Regions from separate parts of the Homo sapiens genome. Here all the other regions are linked to region 3. The links are contacts of gene promoters, found by promoter capture Hi-C in human tissues and cell types (Jung and others, 2019). All regions are on one chromosome and are shown on one strand. Each heading gives the region's core, a stretch centred on a gene start or on the middle of the fragment in contact. The rest is flanking DNA. Distances are from core to core; before and after follow the strand shown. Region 1 has its middle 30 kb from the start of LINC00492. Region 2 overlaps SLCO6A1 (solute carrier organic anion transporter family member 6A1). Region 3 holds the start of SLCO4C1 (solute carrier organic anion transporter family member 4C1).

Region 1 (4,139 bases), core at 1,485-3,984, 250 kb before region 3:
CATCAGTCTAGAAGTTAGAGTAAAATTAATCTTTTATAAAGGATTTTCAGCAGCCATGACCATCACTGCTATGTAGAAAAATTTCTACATATTTATAATGAAATTAGAAATACCCAACCAATCAACCACAAAAGTTAACCTCATAAGCTCAAAGTCCCTTTGGCCAATCATTACCTGAGAGGACAGTAAAGTTTCTAAGAACACCCTAAAAGTATTCCTTACGAACAATATTAAGTACTGATTTAGAGGTGTTCTGCAGGTTAAGAGGTTAAACTAGATTAGCATACTTGATATCTGTTTCAGAGAAATATGTTTAATCATTGAATACCTTCTATGGTCAATGGCACATTTTTTCAAACTAGAATAAATTTTAGAATGTGCACTATGTAATATCAAAAATTTGAAAAATGTTTTCTTCTGTTTTTAATTGGGGTATTAAGACAAAGAGGAAAGTATAGTAGTCCTTGTTTTATTTAAGTAATTCTAGATTGTCTAAACTATGGCAAAATTCAAGTTATATCCCCAATGAAGGAATATAAATGAAGAAAATAAAACATACAGTTCACGTCCTACAAATAAAGTTTACATATGTTTAGTTATTATGTTGTCTTTTAGGTTCCTTTTAAATGACCAAGAGGGTTATATGTAACAAAAACATAATTGCTGCAATGAATAAAATTGAGGCTAAATCACTGGGTATATAGATTATCATTTTCTTAGAATAAATTTTAGAAACAGAGTTGATGCAACCAAAATATGCATATTTTAAAGCAGTAAATCCAAATGGATAAAACATACTCCTGAGAATTGTAATCATTTCATGTTCTCTCTGGATTGTGTGAGATAGCCATCTCTCTGGACAAAGTGTGGGCATTTTTTGATCATGTTAATTTAAATTTGGACAATATATAAAAAGGCAAATAACAGAAAACTGACTGGCCATATGCAGAAAACAGAAACCGGACCCCTTTTTTACACCATATACAAAAATTAACTCAAGATGGATTAAAGACTTAAAAATAAGACCTAAAACCATAAAAACCCCAGAAGAAAACCTAAGCAATACCATTCAGGACATAGGCATGAGCAAAGCCTTCATGACTAAAACACCAAAAGCAATGGCAACAAAAGCCAAAATTGACAAATTAGATCTAAGTAAACTAAAGAGCTTCTCCACAGCAGAAGAAACTATCATCAGAGTGAACAGGCAACCTACAGAATGGGAGAAAATTTGTGCAATCTATCCATCTGACAAAGGGCTAATATCCAGAATCTACAAAGAACTTAAACACATTTACAAGAAAAAAAACAACCCCATAAAAAAGTGGGCGAAAGATATAAACAGACAGTTCTCAAAAGAAGACATTCATGCGGCCAACATATATATGAAAAAAGCTCATCATCACTGGTCATTACAGAAATGCAAATCTAAACTACGATAAGATACCATCTCATGCCAGTTAAAATGGTGATCATTAAAAAGTCAGAAAACAACAGATGCTGGAGAGAATGTGGAGAAATAGCAATGCTTTTACACTGTCGGTGGGAGTGTACATTAGTTCAGCCATTGTGGAAGACAGTGTGGCAATTCCTCAGGGATCTAGAACTGGAAATACCATTTAACCCAGCAATCCCATTACTGGGTACATACCTAAGGGATTATAAATCATTCTACTATAAAGACACATGGACACATATGTTTACTGCAGTACTGTTCACAATACCAAAGACTTGGAACCATCTCAAATGTGCATCAATGATAGACTGGATAAAAGAAATATGGAACATATACACCATGGAATACTATGCAGCCATAAAAGAGGATGAGTTCATGTCCTTTGCAGGGGCATGGATGAAACTGGAAACCATCATTCTCAGCAAACTAACACAAGAACAGAAAACCAAACACTGCATGTTCTCACTCATAAGTGGGAGTTGAACAATGAGAACACATGGACACAGGGAGGGGAACATCAAACACCAGGGCCTGTTAGGGCGTGGGGCCTAGGGGAAGGATAGCACTAGGAGAAATACTTAATGTAGATGACAGGTTAATGGGTGCAGCAAACCACCACGGCACGTGTATACCTATGTAACAAACCTGCGCGTTCTGCACATGTATCCAAGAACTTAAAGTATAATTTAAAAAATTTTTTTAAAAAAGAAGAGAACAGAAAAAAAGATGTTTTACCATTGTTAATAATATAGTATACCTCAAGGAAAAGAGATGTATTGAAGAGAATATTCAATGCACTCAGAGTATGTGCTAATGACTATAAAATGTTCATAAGAAGCTAAAGGAGAAAAATCACTCATTTTAATGGATTTGCTATATTGCATCTACATGGAAAGAGAGAGTGGTACTCCTTACTTTGTTTTATGTTAATACATGAGTACCCTTTAATGAATGAAATAGCCTCTGCTAAATATCATAAGCATAAAATATTGAAAATAGAGATATTTGCTGTTTGCTTCAGAGCTATGAAAATGACGTTTCATTACTGGCTATTATCTGGTTTTATATGATAGAAGTAAACCAAATATGAGACTATAAATACTGAATTGTGTTAATGTGAAGAGAATAGAAAAATTGGTGCTTTTAATTCACAGATGTGCAGCTCTGTTAAAGATTGCATTTTATTTTTAGGTGGCTTATTATTCAGAGCTTAATGCTGAAAACTAGAAAATCTTTCTAGTTATCTTAGTTTGGCAAAAATCAACACTTAACTCACTTTTCAATTCTTCTTCCATTGAAATAAGTATGGGAGTTGTGTGATGTGGGGCAGTAAAAAGAATGTGGGGATTTGGAATCAGAAAAACTTGGGTACAAATTTTGAACCTGGCATTTATTAAATGTGTAAATTTGATCAATCTTGTATGTAAAATAGCACATTAATACATATTGATTTACCAAGATTTGTTTGTAAATCAGAGTAGGTAAAAGCTTATGATTCTTAAGTGATGCAAAATTGACTATATTAATCAAGGTAGGGTAAGTGATATAAATAGAAAATCCTAAAATTTCAGTTACTTAATACAACAAAAGCTTGTGATATGATTTAACTCTGTGTCCCTACCCAAATCTCATCTCAAATTATGATCCCCATAATCTCCACGTGTCAAGGGAGGGACCAGGTGGGAAGTGGCTGGATCATGGTGGTGGCTTTTCCCATGCTGTTCTTGTGATGGTGAGTGAGTTATCATGAGATCTGATGGTTTTATAAAGCGGTTTTCTCTGCTCTTGCTTGCTTTCTCTTGCCTGCCACCATGTAAGATGTGCCTGCTTCTCCTTCTGCCATGATTGTAAGTTTCCTGAGGCCTCCCCAGCCATGCAGAACTGTGAGTCAATTAAACCTCTTCTCTTTATAAATTACCCAGTCCCAGGTAGTTCTTATAGCAGTGTGAAAATGGACTAATACAGCTTATTTCTTGATTATGTGATGGATGTAAATCACTAGGTTGAGGGAGGCATCTGTTGGCTCTGTCATCCCCTACATCAGAGTCTTCTGGTAGCTGGAAGACACAAAGCAAAGAAAACATGGAATTAGGTGGGAGGTTTTAGTGAGCCAAGCCTGAATGTTGCATATATCACATGCATTTATCTTCCATCAGCCAAATTCAGTCACATGGCCATACAAATAGACTAGCTGTGTACTCAATAAAAAGATGAAATAATTTCAGTCTCTGCTCATTCACTAAGTGACCTGAGCAAATTTAACTGATGTAAGTAATCTAAGGTGATTGACCTAGGCCAGTTTAGCTATTCACAAATATTAGTCTCTCTCTCTCTCTCTCTCTCCTTTCTTTCCTTTCTTTTTGGCAGAGTCTCACTGTCACCCAGGCTGGCATGATCTCAGCTCACTGCAACCTCTGCCTCCCAGGTTCAAGCAATCCTCCCACCTCAGTCTCCCTAGTAGCTGGGATTACAGGTGCTTGCCACCACGCCCAGCTAATTTTTCTATTTTTAGTATAGTCGGGATTTCACCACGTTGGCCAGGATGGTCTCGAACTCCTGGCCTCAGGTGATCCACCAGCCTCAGATTCCCAAAGTGCTGGGATTACAGGTGTGAGCCACCACACCTGGCCAGTTTTCTTAAAACTAGATATTAGTAGTCTATAATCACAGTGATTATAAGTGA
Region 2 (4,227 bases), core at 749-3,248, 140 kb before region 3:
CTAACTTAGTTTCATGTGTGCTGGAAGAAGACACCAAACTTCTTGGTCAGAGATGAAATAAAGTTTATGACTCACAGCAATAGCAGTAATGAGAGTTCCTGCTAGGTTTCTGAGCTCCAGTTTCCAAAGGGTGATGTGAAAAGAGGCCAGGTGATATCTGTACACACAATGAGTTGCATTACATGAAAGAAATCTTGAGGTTAGGGAACCCAGGTCTTTTATAGTGGGCAGTAATTATGCTTGTCTTTGGCTCCAGAGGGAGGCATTATACTTGATAAAGAGTGTCCAGAGGGGACACTCTCTCTGTCTTCCAAAATTCTAAGCAAAGTTGTCCTGTGCTCTACGTGGAAATACTATCCTTATTATTCAAGGCTACTCATCGTATAAATATCCTTGAAAAGATAGTGGAGAACAAAGAGCAGTCAGTGCTTCTGCTTGCAAGATATACAGAAAGTTTTCACCCAATAAATATATTAGTAGTTATGTTAAATATAAATAGTCTAAAGAATGTCAGATTGGGAAAAAAATTTCAATATATGTTACTAACAAGAGGCACTCCTTAAATATGGGGACATGAAAAGGTTGAAAGTGAAAGGATAGACGAAAGATACAAATGCTAACCAAAAGAGAAGCTTGTGCAACTATAATAATTTTAAATATTGTATCCTTTAAAGAACACAAGAACTACGACAACTCAAAAAGCTGGAATGTCTTTTTTCCTTCAAAAAACCTCACTAGCTCCCCCATGGAGGCTAGCACCCCAGTACCTGCCAGCACCCTGCCACAGCCAAAAAGCATGCACTCTGCCATGCTGCCGCTGCTGCTGTTGCTGGTATGTGCAAACAGGATGGATCCCATTGCCACTGCCCTACAAAGTGCTTTGGCTGCCACCGTCCATTGGAGTGTTGTGACCAGCAGTCCAGGAGCACCTTGACCCCTCCAGCACAGCATGTTTCTACCTTGAGGAGCCAGAGAACAAAGCCAGTGCCCAATACTGGTCCCCAGGAGTTAGGCCACACAGTCCAGGAGTCCTGAGCTGAGCCTTTGCCTTCTAAAATCTTCCAGAAACAAAGCCAGTTGAATGAACCCACCTTATACAACAAGCAAACCCTCAAGGTCATCAAATAGGATAAAAGAAAAAAAAATCCAAAGGACAGGAACTTCAAGGATTAAAGGAGCATCAGCCCACAAAGATAAAAAAGCAGCACGAGAACTCTGACAATTCAAAAGGCCATAAGGTCTTCTTTCCTTCAAACAACCTCACTAGTTCTCCAGCAAGGGTCCTTAACCAGTCTTAGATGGCTGAAGTGACTGAAATAGAATTCAGAATATGGATAGGAACAAAAATCAAGATTCAGGGGAACGTTGAAACTCATTCTAAGGAAGCTAGGAATCACAAAGTATACGGGATCTGGAAGATAAAGTAGCCAGTATAGAAAAGAACATAACTGACTTGATAGAGATAAAAACACACTATGAGAATTTCATAATGCAATCACAAGTATTAACAGCAGGATAGATCAAGCTGAAGAAATAATCTCAGAGCTTGAAGATTGGGTTTCTGAAACAAGACAGAAAGAAAACATGAAAGAGAAAAGAATAAAAAGGAACAAACAAAATGAACAAAAATATGCAATTATGTAAAGAGACCAAATCTACAATTCACTATCATCCCTGAAAGAGATAGGGAGGATGGAAGCAACTTAGAAAACATATTTCAGGATATCATCTATGAAAACTTTCACAACCTATGTAGAGAGGACAACATTCAAATTTAGAAAATGCAGGAAACTCTCACAAAGTGCTTCACAAAAACATCATCCCTAAGACATAATCATAGGATTCTCCAACTTCAAAATGAAAAAACAATGTCAAAGGCAGCTAGAGAGAAAGGACAGGCCATCTACAAAGGAAAGCTTATTAGAAGACCTATCAGCAGGAACCCTACAAGCTAGACCTCTTAGCAGAAACAGCAGACTTCTCAGCAGAAACCCTACAAGCCAGAAGAGACTGGGAGCCTATATTCAACATTCTAAAAGAAAAGAAATTCCAATCAAATTCATAGCCAGCCAAACTAAGCTTCATAAGTGAAGTAGAAATAAAATCATTTTCAAACAAGAAAATTATGAGGGAATTTTTTACCACCAGACCTGCCTTACAAGAGCTCCTGAAAGAAGCACTAAATATGGAAAGGAAAGACCATTACCAGCCACTACAAAAATGCACTTAAGTATGCAAACCATTGACACTATAAAGCAATCACACAAACAAGTCAGCATAATAAACAGCTAACAACATGATGACAGGATCAAATCCACATATAGCAATAGTAACCTTGAATGTAAATGGGTTAAATGCCCCAATGAAAAGACAGAGTGGCAAGCTGAATAGAAAAGCAAGACCGAATGATATGCTGTCTTCAAGAAATGTGTCTCACATACAATGACACCAATAGACTCAAAAATAGATGAAGAAAAATCTACCAAGCGAATGGAAACTGAAGGGGAAAATGAATGAAAAACTGAAGGGGTTGCAATTCTAATTTCAGACTTTAAATAAACAAATATTGTAAAAAACAAAGAGGGGCTTTACATAATGGTGAAAGGTTCAATTCAACAAGAAGACCTAACTATCCTAAATATATCTGCATTCAACACAGAAACAACCAGATTTATAAATTAAATTCTTAGAGACCTTCAAAGAGCCTTAGACCCCCACCAATTAATAGTGGAAGACTTCAACACCTCACCGAAAGTGTTAGAAAGGTTGTCAAGGCAGAAAATTAACAAAGATGTTCAGGACCTGAACTCAATGCTAGACCAAATAGACCTGAGAGGCATCAACAGACCTCTTCACCAAAAAAACAACAGAATATACATTCTTCTCATTGCCACATGGCACATACTCTAAAATCAACCACAAAATCAGATATATAACAATCCTCAGAAAATGTAAAAGAACTGAAATCATACCAACCACTCTCTTGGACCCCAGCACAATAAAAATAGAAATCAAGACTAATTAAATTGCTCAGAACCATACAATTAAGTGGAAATTAAATGACCCACCCTGAATGACTTTTGGGTAAGTAATGAAATTAAGACAGAATGAGAACAGAGATACAAAACACCAGAATCTCTGGGATATAGCTAAGGCAGTATGAAGAGGGAAATGTATAGCACCACATGCTCACATCAAAAAGTTAGAAAAACCCCAATTTAAAAACTAACATCACAACAAAAAGAACTAGAGAAGCAACAGCAAACCAATTCTAAAGCTAGAGGAGGAAAAGAAATAACCAAAATCAGAGCTGAACTGAAGGGGATGGAGACACAAAAAAACATTCAAAGGAACAATGAATCCAAGAGTTGGTTTTTTGAAAAATTAATAAGAGAGAAGATCCAAATAAACACAATTAGAAATGATAAGGAGGATATTACCACTGACCCCACAGAAACACAAATAACAATCAGAGACTACTATGAGCACCTTTACAAACATGAACTAGAAAATCTAGAAAAAATGAATAAATTCCTGGACACATAAAGCCTCTCAAGACTGATCTAGGAAGAAATTAAATTCCTGAACAGACTAATAATGAGCTCCAAAACTGAAATAGCAATAAATAGCCTACAAACCAAAAAAAGCCCAGGATTAGATGGATTCACAGTCAAACTCTACCAAATGTACAAAGAAGAGCTGGTGTCATTACTACTAAAACTATTCCAACAAATTGAGGAGGGGAGACTCCTGCCCATCTCATTCTATGAGGCCAGAATCATCCTGATACCAAAACCTGGAAGAGACCAACAAAAAAACAAAAATTCAGGCCAATATCCTTGATGGACATACATGCAAAAATCTTCAATACATACTAGCAAATAAATCCAGCAGTACATCAAAAGCTAATCCACCATGATCAAGTAGGTTTTATCCCTGTAATGCAAGATTGGTTAAACATACACACGTCAATAAACATGATTTATCACATAAATAGAACTAAAGTGAAAACCACATGATCATCTGAATAGATGAAGAAATGACTTTCAATAAAATTCAACATCCCTTCATGTTAAAAACTCTCAACAAACTAGGTACTGAAGGAACATACCTAAAAATAATAAGAGCCATCTATGACAAACCCACAGCCAACATTATACTGAATGGGGAAAAGCTGGAAGCATTCCCCTTGAAAACCAGAACAAGGATGCCCCCTCTCACCATTCC
Region 3 (4,378 bases), core at 466-2,965:
TGTACTATGTATTATTACTGTCTGTTTCCTATTAAAACATAAGCACCATAAGGGTAGGGGTATTTGCCAGTCTTTGTTCACTTGTGTACCCCCAGAACTTAGAACAATGTTTGGCACCTAGGACACAAGAATTTTTTGTGTCTGTGTTAAGTGAAAGAATGAATGACTAAATTGTACCTACCATGACACAATGGTGTTAAGCTCTTCGAAGTGTTTTTCTTATTTATTCCACAGTTAGACATGTATTATTATTATTATTATTATTATTAAGAGACAGAGTTTCACTCTTTCACCCAGACTGGATTGAAGTGGCACAATCTCGGTTCACTGTACCCTCCACCTTCCGAGTTCAAATGATTCTCCTGCCTCAGCCTCCCAAGTAGCTGGGATTACAGGCCTGCACCACCACACCTGGCTAATTTTTGTATTTTTAGTAAAGACAGTGTTTCACCATGTTGGCCAGGCTAATCTTGAACTCCTGACCTCAGGTAATCCACCCGCCTCAGCCTCCCAAAGTGCTAGGATTACAGGCGTGAGCCACCGCGCCTGGCCCGGTAGAAATTATTTACATGATTGTCATCACTGTATATCTTACATATGCAATATACAGCAGAGAGACAATTTCTGGTCCTTCAGTTTCGGAGAAGGAAAAGCAAAGCAGTGGTTATGCTGTGATGTTCATCCTGGTGGTGATGGGGGTGGGGTGGGGTGGATTTCTTTTTCTAAGGAGGACTGAGGCAGGAAAATAGGGTCTGGAGGCAGGAAACATAAGGCCTATTCACACTTCAGCTGTAACAGGAAATATCCTCTCCATAGGGCGTAGGCCATAAATGACTTTGTAACTTTACTTCATCTTCTCCCTTTACATAGGGCATACCCAAAGTAACCAATGGAATCCTCTAGGGGGTATTTAAACTCCCCAAAATTCTGTAACCGGGCCTTTGAGCCCCTATGCTCGCCCGTTCCCACACTGTGGAGTGTACTTTCATTTTCAATAAACCCCTTCATTCCTTCCTTGCTTTGTTTGTGCGTTTTCTTCAATTCTTTCTTCAAGATGCCAAGAACCTGGACACCTTCTACCAGTAACAGGATGACAGGCAAGAGTCTTATCAAGATGCTCATGAACCAAAGTATACCTCTGACGTCTTGATTCTTGGAGTCCAAGCCTAGACTGCTTTGGTAAGCAGCAAAGGAAGAAAACGCAAGATAGTTTCCTGAACAATCTCCTGATGCAACTGTTTACAGGTTTCATGTCAGCACCCAAGGGGAGCTTATGGCCAGAGACTCCCACAGTCTCTGTGTGTTCCCAGTGCTTGGGCTCAAGGGAGGCGCGCTGCGGGCTGAAGGCTCAGGTCAGAACCGCAGGGGCTTGGGCGGAGGCGGACTCCGGTCGAAGGCTGTGGGGTGAGAACTCTCGCCCCCTCTACTCGGCCGCCGCCGGGTGGCACGCCCACGCCGCGCCTTCCGGTTGGTCCTTGAGGCGACGGGTGAGGCACAGCTGAGCGCCAAAGCCACAGGCTGGGGCGCTAACGCCCCCGCTCAGCGCTCTGCGCTCCAGACAGCTGCGAGCTGGAGTAGGAAGGTTCAGGCGGTGGCGGAGAGTGCGCTGGAGGCTGGAGGGCCAGGAGGCGGGAAGCTTCCCGCACGGGGGCGCTGTCACCTGCCTGTGGGAGGAGCCAGAGAGGGACCTGGCTCTGCTGCTCTGAAGCACCGGAGTCGGGAGAACCCATCCAGACATGAAGAGCGCCAAAGGTATTGAGAACTTGGCTTTTGTCCCCTCCAGCCCAGACATCCTGCGCCGCTTGTCTGCGTCGCCCTCCCAAATCGAAGTCTCTGCCTTGTCCTCTGACCCCCAAAGAGAGAATTCTCAGCCACAGGAGCTTCAGAAGCCCCAGGAGCCCCAGAAGTCACCAGAGCCATCTCTGCCTTCAGCCCCTCCCAATGTCTCCGAAGAGAAGCTCCGGTCACTGTCGCTGTCCGAGTTTGAGGAGGGGTCTTACGGCTGGAGGAACTTCCATCCTCAATGTCTCCAGCGCTGCAACACACCTGGAGGCTTTCTGCTTCACTACTGCCTCTTGGCCGTCACGCAAGGTAAAGTCCAGCGCCCGCTTGAGGCTCGGGCCAGTGGAGAGCGAGGTGGGCACGGCGAGCCAGCCGGGGGAGAGGGCAGGTGCGCGGGGTCCGTGGGACGGTGGACGCGCCCTGCAAGGTGGCCCCGGGTTTGGAACTTGCTTGCGCTCTCACCAAGGTCAACCTACCGGCCCCCAGCCAGCCTTCCAAAGTTCAGCTTCTCCTTTATCACTACAGTTCAAACTTGCAATACAAGCCTTTTTCTCTTTTGTGTTTTACCTCAGTTTAGCGGATTCAAGACTTACAGGGAAGATTACAAGAACCTTCCTTTGGGAAAGGTATACCCTGGGGAGTTTATTTTACATTATAAAGACAAAAATTTACCTAGGCACTCTTTAAAGGTATTTTACTTTTACATTTGTTTCATTGCCTCAGGGGAAGGAGTAATACGTTTGCAGGTGGGAGTGGGATGCCTTACAAGGAAGAAAGCTATGAAAAATCTATCGTATAAATTAGATACAGACATTCATGTTTTGTGAGTGTATTTAGTTTGAGAGTATGTGGTCACCAGAGGAGCCCAGTGAGTAAATTAGCAAAGGCTCCCGACGTTGTTGAGCCTTAATCTTCATTGTGTTACATTAGTTATCCAGCATCTGTTTTGTTCTAGGATCTCTTTTAGGTTCTCTTGGGAGTTACAGATTCAGTTCAGATTTATACCCTCAGGGGCTTGCAATCTAAGCTCAGTTTGGAGGAGTGATATCCTGGAGGGAGAACAGCTCCCTTGAAAGAAGGCACAGGGAAGGTTAAAGCTGCTTCTGGTGTGTTCAATACAGAGGTTGAAGGAAAATAGGAAGTTAACCTGAGTTGACTTTGAGGAAGGGTGGAGAAGAGGTGGAGAGGAGTCAAGAAGGACATGCCGAAGCTTAGCTGAATTGGAATGTAGATATTTTTTGGTCACTTGAGTCATAGTCCGAGAATATTTTCTGTATAATCAGTCAAGGATTAATTGGAAGAAATACAACCTTAGAAATATAGATTTTAGAGGGTTGGAAACAGCTCATTTTTTAAGTTAATAGAAAACTAAGTCAAAGCCTAAGTATACTTTTTGTTCTTATTCTTCCTCTTCAAGGAACCCAGGGCCCCTTGCTTTGCGCATTAGATGCTAAGTAACCATTTATTGATTGCAAGTCCGCTGCAGCTCTTCTACTGAAGGTAGATTTGTGTTGAAGAATTATTTCCCTGTCCACTTTTCTTGTCCCTACCAAAGTTCCCCTCCATTAATGTCTTGATCATAGTTTTACAAAATTGGTAATTGTGAAGCATCTCAGTGTCAAAGGAATGCGAAGATAAAAAAGTTGGACACAAGTAAAAAATGTCTTATCTTGTGTATTATCTTAAAATTCCTCTGAAATTTCTATATTATTCCAAAATATAACATTTTATATTTAATATAAAATATTGCCTAAAATTGTTATCAAATGTAATTGTCACTCCTAGAAAATTTGTCAGGTTTAGTCTGGAGCAGCATCTACCCAGAGGTCCCCAATTTAAGAAGCTTAATCTGAGATAATAGTGACCCAATAGGCTGGGCATGGTGGCTCACGCCTGTAATCCCAGCACTTTGGGAGGCCGAGGCGGGCGGATCAGTTGAGGTCAGAACTTGGATACCAGCCTGGCCAACATGGTGAAACCCGTCTCTACTAAAAATACAAAAAATTATGGCCGGGCGCCGTGGCTCACGCCTGTAATTGCAGCACTTTGGGAGGCTGAGGCAGGCAGATCAACTGAGGTCAGGAGTTCGAGACCAGCCTGGCCAACACGGTGAAACCCCGTCTCTACCAAAAATACAAAAACTAGTTGGGCATTGTGGCGCATGCCTGCAATCCCAGCTACTTGGAGGGCTGAGGTGGGAAAAACACTTGAACCCAGGAGGCGGAGTTTGAAGTGGACCGAGATCGTGTCATTGCACTCCGGCCTAGGCAACAGAGGGAAACTCTGTCTCAAAACAAAACAAAACACCACAAAAATTAGCCGGGTGCGGTGGCACACGCCTGTAGTCCCAGCTATTCAGGAGGCTGAGGCACGAGAATGGCTGGAACCCGGGAGGTGGAGGTTGCAGTGAGCCGAGATGGCGCCACTGCACTCCAGCCTGGTGACAGAGCGAGGCAAGGTCTCAAAAAAAAGTATAATAATAAAAAGTGTGACCCAATAAATTACTAGTTTACGTTTCAGTTTAAGTTTGAATGCCTGAAAACTTTATTGCCATGTTTCTCAAACATGATCCTTAAGATCATTTCCATGGTATATT

What was found. The method cuts DNA at HindIII sites, captures the fragments that hold promoters and counts their contacts. A contact is called where the count stands out against the background at its distance.
Region 1: a contact is called between a fragment that was not itself captured here and the fragment with the promoter of SLCO4C1 in region 3, in 1 of the 25 tissues and cell types used here (thymus).
Region 2: a contact is called between a fragment that was not itself captured here and the fragment with the promoter of SLCO4C1 in region 3, in 2 of the 25 tissues and cell types used here (neural progenitor cells and thymus).

The regions. Positions count from the first base shown.
Region 1 is chr5:102,549,581-102,553,719 of GRCh38, reverse strand. No RefSeq gene overlaps it. Among named protein-coding and RNA genes, the nearest start is that of LINC00492, 30 kb to the left of the region's middle. The HindIII fragment of the contact is 5,071 bases long and covers 199-4,139 here.
Region 2 is chr5:102,430,348-102,434,574 of GRCh38, reverse strand. The region is part of intron 7 of SLCO6A1 (solute carrier organic anion transporter family member 6A1); the gene reads left to right. Among named protein-coding and RNA genes, the nearest start is that of SLCO6A1, 67 kb to the left of the region's middle. The HindIII fragment of the contact is 4,050 bases long and covers 1-4,023 here.
Region 3 is chr5:102,293,621-102,297,998 of GRCh38, reverse strand. SLCO4C1 (solute carrier organic anion transporter family member 4C1) reads left to right here and starts at 1,715. Exons shown (of 13, transcript NM_180991.5): 1 at 1,715-2,091. The coding sequence starts at 1,737. RefSeq lists an enhancer at 1,750-1,949. The HindIII fragment of the contact is 20,431 bases long and covers 1-2,314 here.